Linked DNA regions of Homo sapiens: all the other regions are linked to region 2. Evidence: promoter capture Hi-C in 16 types of primary human blood cells and fetal thymus (Javierre and others, 2016). All regions are on one chromosome and are shown on one strand. The core of a region is centred on a gene start or on the middle of the fragment in contact, and the rest is flanking DNA. Distances in the headings are between cores, read along the strand shown. Region 1 overlaps DSG2 (desmoglein 2). Region 2 holds the start of SLC25A52 (solute carrier family 25 member 52). Region 3 has its middle 3.2 kb from the start of DSG2-AS1.

The links. Contacts are between HindIII fragments. The CHiCAGO score rates a contact against its expected background, and 5 or more counts as called.
Region 1: a fragment that was not itself captured here is called in contact with the fragment with the promoter of SLC25A52 in region 2 in 1 of 17 cell types (M0 macrophages); the score reaches 5.4 in M0 macrophages.
Region 3: a fragment that was not itself captured here is called in contact with the fragment with the promoter of SLC25A52 in region 2 in 1 of 17 cell types (M2 macrophages); the score reaches 5.4 in M2 macrophages.

Annotation. Positions count from the first base shown.
Region 1 is chr18:31,541,493-31,545,794 of GRCh38, forward strand. DSG2 (desmoglein 2) reads left to right here. Exons shown (of 15, transcript NM_001943.5): 14 at 1,028-1,360; 15 at 4,229-4,302. It overlaps DSG2-AS1 (DSG2 antisense RNA 1), which reads right to left. Exons shown (of 6, transcript NR_045216.1): 4 at 4,244-4,302; 5 at 1,610-1,903; 6 at 654-829. Among named protein-coding and RNA genes, the nearest start is that of DSG2-AS1, 13 kb to the right of the region's middle. The HindIII fragment of the contact is 3,463 bases long and covers 1-3,003 here.
Region 2 is chr18:31,758,990-31,763,333 of GRCh38, forward strand. SLC25A52 (solute carrier family 25 member 52) reads right to left here and starts at 1,891. Exons shown (of 1, transcript NM_001034172.4): 1 at 595-1,891. The coding sequence starts at 1,672. The coding sequence ends at 779. The HindIII fragment of the contact is 4,954 bases long and covers 1-2,926 here.
Region 3 is chr18:31,558,055-31,562,197 of GRCh38, forward strand. No RefSeq gene overlaps it. Among named protein-coding and RNA genes, the nearest start is that of DSG2-AS1, 3.2 kb to the left of the region's middle. The HindIII fragment of the contact is 963 bases long and covers 1,228-2,190 here.

The DNA.
Region 1 (4,302 bases), core at 22-2,521, 220 kb before region 2:
AATTGAGATAGTTTTACTCTGTTTTGACACTTCCCATGTTGTAGAGAATGTAGAGCAAGGTTCAGGAAGAGCAAGAGTGTGTAGGAATCTAAGTCTTTTGTCCTAACATTAAATGGGCAGTTTTCATAACCAGGAACTGCTTCATTTCCATTTCCCTCAATACATAGGGTTTGCAGAGGTAAGCCCACAACCCCCATGACACTTGTAAAATGTTGCAAAACCCCATTTCCCAACTACATCATAGCCATATCCCTTTGTCTCTCTGTTGCACCTTCACCCTGGACCTCTCACCACCATCTGTTATGAGCACCATTTCTAATAGGATAGGATTTAGCATCAGGTGGCAGAGAACTCAGAATAACAGTGGCTTAATCCTAAAATGGGCATTCCAAGATCAACATGATGATTCATCCGCAGCATGGTCCCCAGTTCCCTCTTCCTTGTTTTTCTTCCATGGTTGAGTTCCATTCCCACACTGTCCTCATGTCCTAGTTCTAGCTACCTAGCTGCCGTCCCCACATTCTAACCAGCACATGGGAGAAAAGTGAAGAACCCTCTTTAAGCACACTTCCCGGAACTTGTGTACACCATTTCTGCTTCATTCACATTGACCACAGTTTAGTCAGGTGGCTATACCTAGTGGCATCAGAGGCTTAGAAATATAGTCTTTATTTTGGGTGGCCATGGATCCAGGTCAAAACAAAGTTAAGAATTCTGTAACTATAGAAGAAGGTATCAAACTGTAGAGGGAGGTTGAAATGCCATTGGTCGCATAGAGTAAAGGAGCTGAGACTGTTTGGGCTTTGTTTTCTCTTTGGGTTCTATCCACCTATAAAACAAGAAGAGAGAAGAAAGGAGATCTTCATAAGACTTACATAAGTTATTCAACTCAAAATACTTTTTCTAACTGGCCTCAGTGGAAATAGCTTATACCTTCCTATGCCCACTTGACTCAGATCCTTCTACCAAGGATGAAGGATTCCCTCCATCCTCCTGACTCAGTTCTCAGCTGTGTTTGCTCTCACAGGTGGTGCCATCATTTCTGCCAGTGGATCAAGGGGGCAGTCTAGTAGGAAGAAATGGAGTAGGAGGTATGGCCAAGGAAGCCACGATGAAAGGAAGTAGCTCTGCTTCCATTGTCAAAGGGCAACATGAGATGTCCGAGATGGATGGAAGGTGGGAAGAACACAGAAGCCTGCTTTCTGGTAGAGCTACCCAGTTTACAGGGGCCACAGGCGCTATCATGACCACTGAAACCACGAAGACCGCAAGGGCCACAGGGGCTTCCAGAGACATGGCCGGAGCTCAGGCAGCTGCTGTTGCACTGAACGAAGAATTCTTAAGAAATTATTTCACTGATGTAAGGATGAGTTTTATGTATTGGTGGTGGGGGGTGGGGGGAACATTTGTATGTGAATGTGATATTATTAGGGTAATCATTGCCTTGGATCCAAATGAGACTTTGGGTTTTTTTTTTTTTTCTTTTTTCAGGGAATACTTATAGGCAATAAGGAAAGAGAAATGGGACCCACAGAATCAGTCGGTGTTAGCTAAATTATGCTGCAGTAACCATGATCTTAGTTCTCACACAGGCATATTTCTCACTTACAGTTATGTTTTTGCCAGTCAGTCAGCTCTGCTTTCCTTCATGATGTCTTCATATCAAGATGCACACTGAGAGAGCAGATTGTACCTGGGAAGCTGCCGTCCTTGTGACCCAAAGAAAAGAACAAGGCAGAACCAGGCAATGGCTCTCAAAGCCTCCACCTTTTTACACCACATTTCATTGACCAAAGCAAGTCATATGACCAAGACAGATGTCAGTGGGTCGGAAAGTTGCATCCCTCTGCAGGAGCAGGCTTGGTAGGGATGAGCTCCGTAGGAGAGGCAGAGGATATATAACCTAAAAAACACAATCTATTAAGTCCATTTAAATTTTACCTTCTGTATGAGAGTACTTGGCTTTGCTATTATGAGGGTCCACCAAAAAATGATGAGAAAAGTTCCAGGAAGATGATCAGATGCAATAAGGAAGCTCATGCTAGAATTGAGGAATTAGAAGCAGAACTGAAAATAAAAGTATAATGTAGAGGTCAGGCACAATGGCTCATGCCTGTGATCCCAGCACTCTGGGAGGTCAAGGCAGGCAGATCACTTGAGCCCAGAAGTTCAAGACCAGCTTGGGCAATATGTTAAAACCCTATCTCTCCAAAAATACAAAAAATTAGCTGGGCATGCTGGCACACACCTGTAGTCCCAGCTACTCAGAAGGCTGAGGTAGGGGGATCACTTGAGCCTGGAAAGCCAAGGATGCAGTGAGCTGTGATCATACCACTGCACTCCAGCCTGGGCAACAGAGTGAAACTCTGTCTAAAAAAAAAAAAAAAAAAAAGTATAACATAGAGATAAAGTATACTTCAGAACAAGGAATATTACCAGGAATAATGAGGGATAGTTCATAATGAAAAATGAGTCAGTTCATCAGGAGGCCTGAAACTCCTAAATATGTCAGAACCTAATAACAGAAATTTTTAAAACTTAAAGCAAAAACAACTGAAAGAGAAACAGACAAATTCATAATGATAGTTGGAGAGTTCAACCTGATCTATCAGTAAATGAAAGAACAAGTGACAGAATCAGTAAGCATATAGAAAACTTAGTACTGTGAACCAAATGGATCTAGTTGATACTGACAGAACACTCTATGCAACAGAAGCAGAATACACATGCTTTTTCATATAGACTGTATTCTAGAACATTAAATAAATGTAAATAACTTTTAAAGAACTGCAGTCATACAATGTACTTTGATGAAAAAAAAATTAAAACCAGAGATCAGTAACAAAGAGATATATAAAATATACTCAAATATTTATAAATACACATGACTGCAAATTAAATTATACTTCATGAAAATTTGTGGGGTACTACTAAAGTGATGCTTGAAGGGAAATTGTAGCAAAAATGGCTATATTAGAAGATGGTTCTCAAATCAGTGACCTAAGCTTCCACCCTCAGAAGTTAGAAGAGCAAATTAAACCCAAAACAAGCAGAAATAAGATAATGATGAATTTTAGAGCAGAAATCAATGAAATATTTAGCAAAAAGTAATAAGAAAAAAAATTGAAGCCACAAGCTTATTATTTAAAGAGGTCAATAAAATTGATAAACATTTTACCAGACTAATTAGGATATTAAGAGATTAAGCACAAACTATGGATGTTAGAAATAAAATAAAGAACTTTACTACAGATCTTACAGACATAGTAAGAATAATTTTTTAAAAAGTAGGACTGGGTGGTTTTCTTGAGAACAAGGCCCTGTGCTCCCATGAGAATGGACAGAGTTGGAATATAAGGCATCTGAAGGGCCCTAGAGAGGAGTAAGGGGAGGGGCTTCCATTGAGGAAAGCAAGTTACTTCTGTCCCCCTCTTCTAAATTTGCAAATTATTAGCGTGCTTTCCCACTTTCTGCTCCTTTTTAACCTCCCATCTTTCATACCATCCTTCACCCACCTTCAAGTATTAGCTTAACAGGGATGTGGGTGGTGTCAAGCAAAACCATTTCTTGGCCTTTCCTGTCTCACTGCTAAGCTCAATTCTAGCGTCCTGTTTGTTTTCTTTTGGTAAGTTTTCCCTCTCTCCACTCTAATCCTGCTCCAGTCATTCTTGGTTATGTATGTGTGTACTAACTTTTGATTTGGAAGTAATTTCAAAGTTATCAGAAAATTTGCAAGAATAATAGAAATTTTGAACCCAATAAACATTTTGCCACATTTGCTATTTGCTTTTCCATTTTCTCTGTCTCTCTCTCACTGACACACATTCACACACATTCTCTTACATTACTATAGTACAGTTAACAAATGTAGAACTTTAATATTGACATAGTCCATATTTCAGTTTAGCCAACTATCACACTATCTTTTACAGCAATTTTGTTTTTCTCAGGATCCTGCATTCCATTTAGTTGTCCTGACACTTTAGTCTCCTTTAATCTGAAACAGTCCCCTCTGCCTTTCTATTTTTTCCCTGATATTAATTTTTTTTAAGAATACAGTCCAGTTGTGTCGTAGGATCTCTCTCAATTTGTGTTTCCCTGATGGTTCCTTGTAATTAAATTCACATTACTGCATTTTGAACAGGAATATAGAGTCTTGTTTTAAAATGAATTTATATTGCTAATTATTTGTCTGTTTTGTGTTTGTTTTGTTTTGTTTTCATTTTAGAAAGCGGCCTCTTACACTGAGGAAGATGAAAATCACACAGCCAAAGATTGCCTTCTGGTTTATTCTCAGGAAGA
Region 2 (4,344 bases), core at 641-3,140:
AAGTCCCTTCATCTTTCAGCAATGAAATAAGTGAAATTAACATAAGAATATTTTGGAAGGGTTGAGGGTCACAGTCAGAATCAAACAGAAAACTTTCAAACCTAGAAAGCAAAACGGGAACTTTCATAGCTCCTTGATCTACCATATCTAAATAGAAATAGTATAATGACTATCCAATAGGTGATTAGTTTCAAAACTAATACAAGCAATGTATCATGAAAAGCCTCTACATAACAAGCTGTTTTTCTTCTCTGTTCTGCCCCTTTGTCATATGCTTGAGCTTAATGAAGACTATCCTCTGCAGCTGCTCCTGAGGGCACAGAAGAAAGCAATGGAGTAACAAAGGAAGCCTGAGGAGCCCCTGGCCCCTGAGGACCTTCTCTCTGGCCGGTCATAGCAACTTATGTTTTAATGCAGGAGATTTCAAGACTGGTTTGAGAAAAAGAATCTTATCTTGGGGATTAGGTTCCCTGTCAAAGGCCATCAGATGGACAGCTATTTACCAGGCAATTAGCCTAAAGCTCTTAGGTAATGATAAAAAAAAAAAAAAAAGAAAGAAAGAAAAAGAAAACAAAACAAAAAAAAACCCTTACATTTTCCTATTGGAACCTTTTATTCTGTTTTGTTGATGCTTAAGGAAAACAGCTTTGCCCGTAACTCACTGTGGCCTGGAGTTATGACACGAACTTGTATTTGGCCAATTAAGAAAGAGGCCAAACTGCATTCTTCTTAGAAGGTCTATTCAGTTGATAAATGGCACTTAACTGATGGTTTTTTTTCATATAAATTTTAACAAGAACTCATAAGTTGCATTGATTATGCCCCAAGAGATGAGGGACCGATGGTAATTCAGATGGGCACCTCTGAAAAGATTTATCAGTTTTCTGTCCCGTTCCAGCCAGATTTTTTGGAAAACCTTGGGGAAAGACTGAAATTCCCCACCAATCTGAGACTGTAGGCGAGTTTTTACAACATTAATTGGAAAACACAAGAATCCCAACATGGCACCCAATAGACCTCCACCGATAAAATCATTGACCAAATGAGCACTGTGAGTCGTTGCGGTAGGCAGATGCTCCTTAATGGGACCTCGAAGGCCGAAAAACAAGACATTGCTGAGTCCATTCCGGAAAAGAATGGGCACCAAGCCTCGATAATACTCTCCAATTCCATGACATTTCAGTGCCTTGAAAGCCTGATAAGTGTTGGTAAATTTGTCATGATGCTTGTGGTTTTGAAGCAATGTCTGAACTCTTTCCAGTGGAGTGAAAATTGCTTCTGCTGTCCCTGCAAGCACTGCCGCCACGCCATGGGTTGCAAACTCTGGAGCACGGACATGCTTCCGGAGAAGGCAGGATAAATCCTCATACAGACCAAACATAAGTGCAAGCGTAGTTGTCTTCTGCATCAATGGGGGAAGGATTCCACGATACAAATTTCGAAATCCATCCCTTCTCAACTGAAGTACTGCATCCCGGGTTTTGATGCCATACAGCTGTTGCCGAAAGAGGACCTTCTGAATGGGATATGTGATTGCGACGTTGTTGAAGGCTGCACAGCAGCCACACAAGTAATGCTTCATTTCACCAACATTTGTAATATGAGGTGATATATCTTGTTTTGAAGATGTAAGTATTGGTGGCCTCTTTTCATGAGCTTCTGAATCTATCATGTTGCTTAAGATCTTTCTCATGAAGGGCATTTTTTAACCTGTGACATCATCTGAGCCTGGAGTTTGGCAGGATGATAGCTTTGTGATAATGTTCCCAATTTCTTCCATTGTTATTGTTCTGTTAGGTTCTCTCTTCCCGAGTCCATTTTGATAACTGGATTTCCGTTCTCCAGGCGTCCATTTCCCCAACCCATCGCCGCCGGCGCCCCGCAGGACTGCGAGCAAGCCGGGACCTGCGCAGGCGCAGACCATGACCGACCCCGGGGCGGGGGCGCAGCGTGACGCTCTGGGCGCCGCTGGGATCCGAGAAGAAACCCTTTTAAAGCAAGCATGGCAATTTCTTCTAAATAAGCTGGATAAAATTAAAAACTCATTCATCCAAAGATCCTAAAAAATCAACAAATTCCTAAATATTAAATGGTATAGACACAAGTGTTTCTTAAATCACATAACCTTCTCCACGGACACTGTGAAGATGTGTTGCCAGTGGCTTCCCTAAGAGACTGTGAAACTTTTTAAATAGTGTATACATACAAGAAAAGTGGATTTTAGTGTAATCTTGCAGAAGAACAAAACAAACATGGTATCTAAGAGTACAAAGGCACAAAAGTTGAAATTTCATAGTCACTCAGGCCTTGGAGTACTGTATTTTCTTGAAAGGGAAAAAAGTAGGCCAGGTGCAGTGGTTCACACCTGTAATCCCAGCACCTTGGGAGGCCAAAACGGGAGGATCGCTTGAGGCTAGGAATTTGAGACCAGCCTGGGCAACATAGCAAGACCCCTGTCTCTACCCAAAAAAAGAAAAAAGAAAAGAAAGAAAAAAGTAGGTGGTAAGGAGAAGTAAGGAGAAGATGAATTTTTTTTTTAAAAAAAGTTCTGTATACCACATGAAATTTTACTGGGAGGAAAGTGTCTGAGGTTTTAAGAGGCATAAATTAAATAACCTTGAAACCCATTTTGCTCTAGGACTACCCATGTGTTTTCTAGAGTAACCAATGTGTATATTCCATGTATGTGAATGAGAGATGAAAGGAAACAAAAATAACTTCCCTTCCAGGAACAGTGGAAGGCTTCAGCCAACAAAGTAGGTCACAGCATCAGACTACATTGCCTGCTGATGTGTACTGCCTAGTTTTTGAATAGAATCAAATGACAGCTTCCTTGAGATTAAATGACAGTTTCCCTGACCATCATCTTAAAGCACGCCTATGGTGGATCGCTCTAGAATGAACCATAAACCCGAAGTTCTCTTTAAGCTTTAGTGAAACGAAATAGTAAAAGCTTTTCACGGAAAGAGAAGGGAGTCTCCAACATTTATACTGATTGATTTTGGCAGCAATGACTTTCATTAGAAATGTAATTGCTGGGTATGCAAAAATTAGCACTGTTGGGGCTAGAGAGATCTTTGTTTTCCTTTCTTTTGTTTTGTTTTGCTTTTTTGCCTAATATTGATAGTGTTTTCTCGGTTTTGCCATAGCCCTTCTGTCAAGATGCTGGCAATCAGTATATCATGAAAAACAGACTGCCCTTTCTCGCATTTATTGAAGAGAGATTCTCATGATCCTATGGTAAGATAACAATTGCTTTTTTTCAATCCATCCTCCACACTGCAGCCAAAGCAGTCATCTTAGTAACAAACGTGAGCACGTTTTCCCTCACTTAAATCTTTAAATGATTTTACACCTGAAGGACAAAGGTCCCCCATGGTCTGACGTTTTCCTACCCTTGGCGCCATCTGCCTTCACATTTCTAAAGGCACCTTCCGTCCCCGCCATATCAAACTACTCGGGGTCTCCAGAATGAAGAATAATGTGCCATCTGACACTCCTTTGTCTTTATTCGGTTATTGCCTCTGCCTGAAATGTCCTTACTTCTAGTTCCTACTCAGCTTCTGGAAGCCTTCGCTAACTCCTTAGTCCAAATGAGGACCCCTTCTCCACAACACACCCTATACACACTGTGAGTGTGGCACGTGTCACACTGTACAATGTCCACGATTCACAATGCTGAGGGCTTCTTGAAGACACAGTCCACTTCTCATTGAACTTTATTCCAGTTTGTGTCCCCAGTGTCCAGGCATCTGGTTAGGTCTCCAACTGCTTAAGAGTGTAAAGAGTGTTGATGAGTTCTGTATTACTCATGGGTCTTGGTTATAAGAGCCAAAAATACCATTCCAACTGAAGCAAGCAAATCTAGGGGGTAAGGAAAGGAGAAGGAAGAAGGAAGATGAGAAGGAGGTAAGAAATCAGGAAAGGATTTAAAAAGGTGGCATCTGGGCAACATTTAAGGCAATTTTCCAGCTTCTCTCATTTGCACCAGTAGGAGTGGGCCATGTGGCCACAGAGGAGAACATTTCCGAATACCCTTCTGGATCCTGCTGATTTTGGGGGGTACTTACCTCCTTCTGTCCTCAGCACCCAAGTGCCAGATGAGGCAAGTGAATTCCTTTGCAAGAGAGGAAAGAAAGGCAGTTTCAGTGAGAAAATAACAATAAAAAGTGAAGTGGGGGGAGAAATGTATTAGTTCGTGTAATGAAAAAGTTGAGAAATCCAGAAGTAGCAATCACTTTAGGCATTGCTGGATCCTAGAGGTTCAACCACCATCACAAGTACTTAACATCCCTCTCCACGTATATATTGCCCAGCTATACATTCCTCAGTTTTAACTTCATT
Region 3 (4,143 bases), core at 459-2,958, 200 kb before region 2:
TACATAAAAACACTTACAAAATTAGTCAATCAAAATAACATGGAGTCATTTACTTAAAGAATTCCTTACGTTTAAAAATAAAGTACTTGAATATGGAATCAACCTAAGTGTCCATCAACTTAAGTGTCCAATTTAATCCATCAACTGGATTAAAAAACTGTGGTACATATATACCACGGGATAATACTCAGCCATAAAAAAGAATGAAATCATGTCTTCTGCAGCAACATGGATGGAATTGGAGGCCATTAACCTAAGTGAAATAACTCAAAAACAGAAAGTCATTTGAGACCAGCCTTACCAACATGGAGAAGCCCCATCTCTACTAAAAATATAAAATTAGCCGGGTGTGGTGGTGCATGCCTGTAATCCCAGCTACTCGGGAGGCTGAGGCAGGAGAATCGCTTGAACCTGGGAGGCGGAGGTTGCGGTGAGCCGAGATCTCACCATTGCACTCCAGCCTGGGCAACAAGAGTGAAACTCTGTCTCAAAAAAAAAAAAAAAAAAAAAACCGTATGTTCTCACTTATAAGTGGAAGCTAAACAGTGGGTACACGTGGGCATACAGAGTGGAATAATAGACACTGGGGACTCCAAAAGGTGAGAAGGGAGGAGAAAGTAAGGATTGAAAAATTACCTCTTGGGTACAACGTTCACTGTTCCGGTGATGGGTACACTAAAAAGCCTAGATGTAACTGTTATGCAATCCGAGCATGTAAACAATCTGCAGCCGGGCTTGGTGGTTCATGCCTGTAATCCCATCACTTTGGGAGGCCAAGGCAGCAGGATTGCTTGAGCCCAGGAGTTCTAGACCAGCCTGGGCAACATAGTGAGACCTCGTCTTTACAAAAATTTTAAGAAATTAGGTGGCCATGGTGGTGTACACCTGCGGTCTCAGCTGCTTGGGCGGCTGACATGGGAAGATCACTAGAGCCCAGGAATTCAAGGCTGCAGTGTGCCATGACTGTGCCACTGTACTCCAGCCCAGATGACAAAGACTATGCTTTAAAAAAATGAAAATTTAAAAATCCTGCACTTGTACCCCTGAAATATATAAAAATAGAAACAGAAACATAAATAATAATAAAATGCATTTCTTTTACACATAAAACAAATAAAAGTAAAGTACTTGAAATTAGACGATTCCAGAAAATTGTTGACATGTTTGTTCCCCTAACAATTTGGTACTTTGGTCTCCTTTATGAAACTGTGAAAGCTCCGAGCCAAAAGCTTTGTCTTTCTTCATTCTTGCATCTTTAGTACATATCACAATGCTTTATATATGACACGTGCATGACTATTTGTTGTTAATTGAATGGTATATCATATTTCAATAGACATTTTCCCCAACATTCTATTGGAAAACTTTTCACACACATAGCAAACTGAAAGAATTTTCAGTGAACACTTGAATTTCTACCACCAAGATTTCACTATTAATATTTTACTGTTCTTAGTTTATTACATATCTATCCATGTCTGTATCCATTGATCAATCCATCTTATTTCTCTTGGTGAATTTCAAATTAAATTATAGCCATAAGTATACTTAAATACATCCATACGCTGAACACATCAGAGTTGAATTACAGTTCAAGATTTATTTACATTTTTTTTCTTCTGAGGCAAAATCACATAGCATGAAATGCACCAATTTTAAGTGTACATTTGCTAAGTTTTGAAGAATGCATACACCCGTGTAACCAAACCCCTTTCAAGATGTGAAAATGACCATGACCCCAGAAAATACCAATACCTCTTCCTGCTCAGGCCTCATCTCTATCTCTGAGAGGCAATGACTTTTTTATTTAAATTTTTTTTAGTTTTGCCTCTCCTAGAACTTTATATAAATGGAGTCATATAGTGTGGACTCTGGAATAGACTTCTATCACTCAGCATAATTTTTTGAGATTCATCTAGGTTGTGTGTACCAGTAACACATTTCTTTTTGTAGAAAAGAAACTATTTTGCAATGGAATGCAGTAGCGTTCTATTGTATAATTATGTCAAAATTGTTTTTCCATTCTCATATTGATGGACACCCAGACTGTCTTCAGTTTTGTGTTATCAAAAATGAAGCTACTATAAACATTCATGTTCAAGCCTTGGTGGCCATATGTTTTCATTGCTCTGGGGCAAATACCTAAATTGCTGGGTCATGGGGTAAATGTATGTGTAGACATTTTTTAGAAGCTTTTTTTTTTTTTTAACAAAAATGCCAGGCTATACTTACCATGCTTTTTCTCTCCTAGTTTGCCAATTTATTATTTATTTATTTATTTATTTTCTTGAGACAAGGTCTCACTCTGTTGCCCAGGCTGGAGTGCAGTGGCACAATCATAGCTCACTGCAGCCTCAATCTCCCAGACTCAAGTGATCCTTCTGCCTCTGCCTCCAGAGTAGATGGGACCACAGGCACGCACCACATCAAGCTATTTTTTTTATATATTTTTTGTAGAGATGGGGATTTGCTATGTGGCCAAGGCTGGTTTTGAACTCCTGGGCTCAAGTGATCCTCCCAACTCGGCCTCCCAAAGTGCTGGCACTGCCCCTGGACTAGCTTGCCAATTTAAAAGAAATCCCTGAGTAAGAGCACCCAAGGTCCGCTGAATGCCCTTCACCTCACTCGGAATTCTAGAGCATCCGAGGATCTTTCCATTCCATATGATACACACCCTACCACACACTCAACCAACAGCTGACTGGATGAGAGAGGTACTGAACCTAAAAGTGGCCATCTGCAGGTTGTCTAGAAGCCCAAGAGATAGACTGTTCAAAGATCTGGCCACAATGGGATGACAAAGAATAATCAGTCCAGCTAACTCCCTTCTTATTAATTAGAAATGGAGACACTGGAAAGAGACATTTAGTTAAAAGTGGACACAGAAGGAAAAAGACACACAAGCAAAGCATTCTTCAGATTTCTTTGAGAGCAGCTAAATTGATGGTTAAAGAGACATGCGGAAATTCATGCTTTTCTAAGGAATGAGCTCTTTAGGAGTTTCTCTTGCAAACAAAGAGAAATAAAATTCCCACATAATCTGGAGCACTCTAAGGAAGGGTAGAAAAATCCATGTTCTTGCTAGTACAGGACTTAGAGTCTTAAAAATTAGAGAAATTCGTTTAAGATTTATAGTCTTAAAAATTAGAAAAATCCACCCACCTGATCCACATTGAGAAGCTGGAATGAAATAAAAATAAAGATAATGATTAAAAGGAATATTCCCTCAATATTTCCACTCCCTGCATCCCCGACCCGTCTGCGTCTCCCTCTACTCTCATACATACTCCAGTAATATTTGGCCAAAAGTAGAAGCCAGGGGGTTAGAAAAAGAAATAGGATAAACCAAGACAAACTATCAAGGAAGTAAAAGGAACATAGAGGCAAACAAAATCCTCATGTCTCTTTCCCCCTCCTCCTGACATAGCCCTGATAACTAGGGAGGAAGAGCATCTGCTACCGGGTGCATCCTCTGAACATTCCAATGACCCGACCCATGGAAAGAGAACCAAATTCTTCAGCCCAGCTTCTAGGATCTTACCTCAAGAGAGTCTTAAAATTATGAAAAGATATGTATATAAGGATGTTTGCTACTATGTTGTTTATCATGTAAAAATTGTAAACAGCAGGTTATTGGTAGAGTTCCTTCAAAATGAGCTGTGGGCCGGGTGTGGTGGCTCACACCTGTAATCCCAGCACTTTGGGAGGCCAAGATGGGAGGATTACCTGAGGTCAGGAGTTCAAGATTAGCCTAGCCAACACGGTGAAACCCCATCTCTACTAAAAATACAAAAAGTTAGCCATGTGTGGTGGCGGATGCCTGTAATCCCAGCTACTGAGGTGGCTGAGGCAGAAGAATTGCTTGAACTCGGGAGGCGGAGCTTGCAGTGAGCCGAGATCACGCCACTCCTCTCCAGCCTAGGTAACAGAGCGAGACTCCATCTCAAAAAAAAAAAAAAAAAAGAAAAAAATCAGCTCTGTGCAGTGCTACATGTGGATTAATGAAGCATTGAAAGTTACAACCCTTTTGGTAATTGCAAGGGAACCTGGAATAGATCTACCCACCATGCTATCTGACCTTTCTAAACTTGTGTGTCAGTTGCAAGGTTTATTGGTCCACTTTTTAGATGAGCAAGCCAAAGG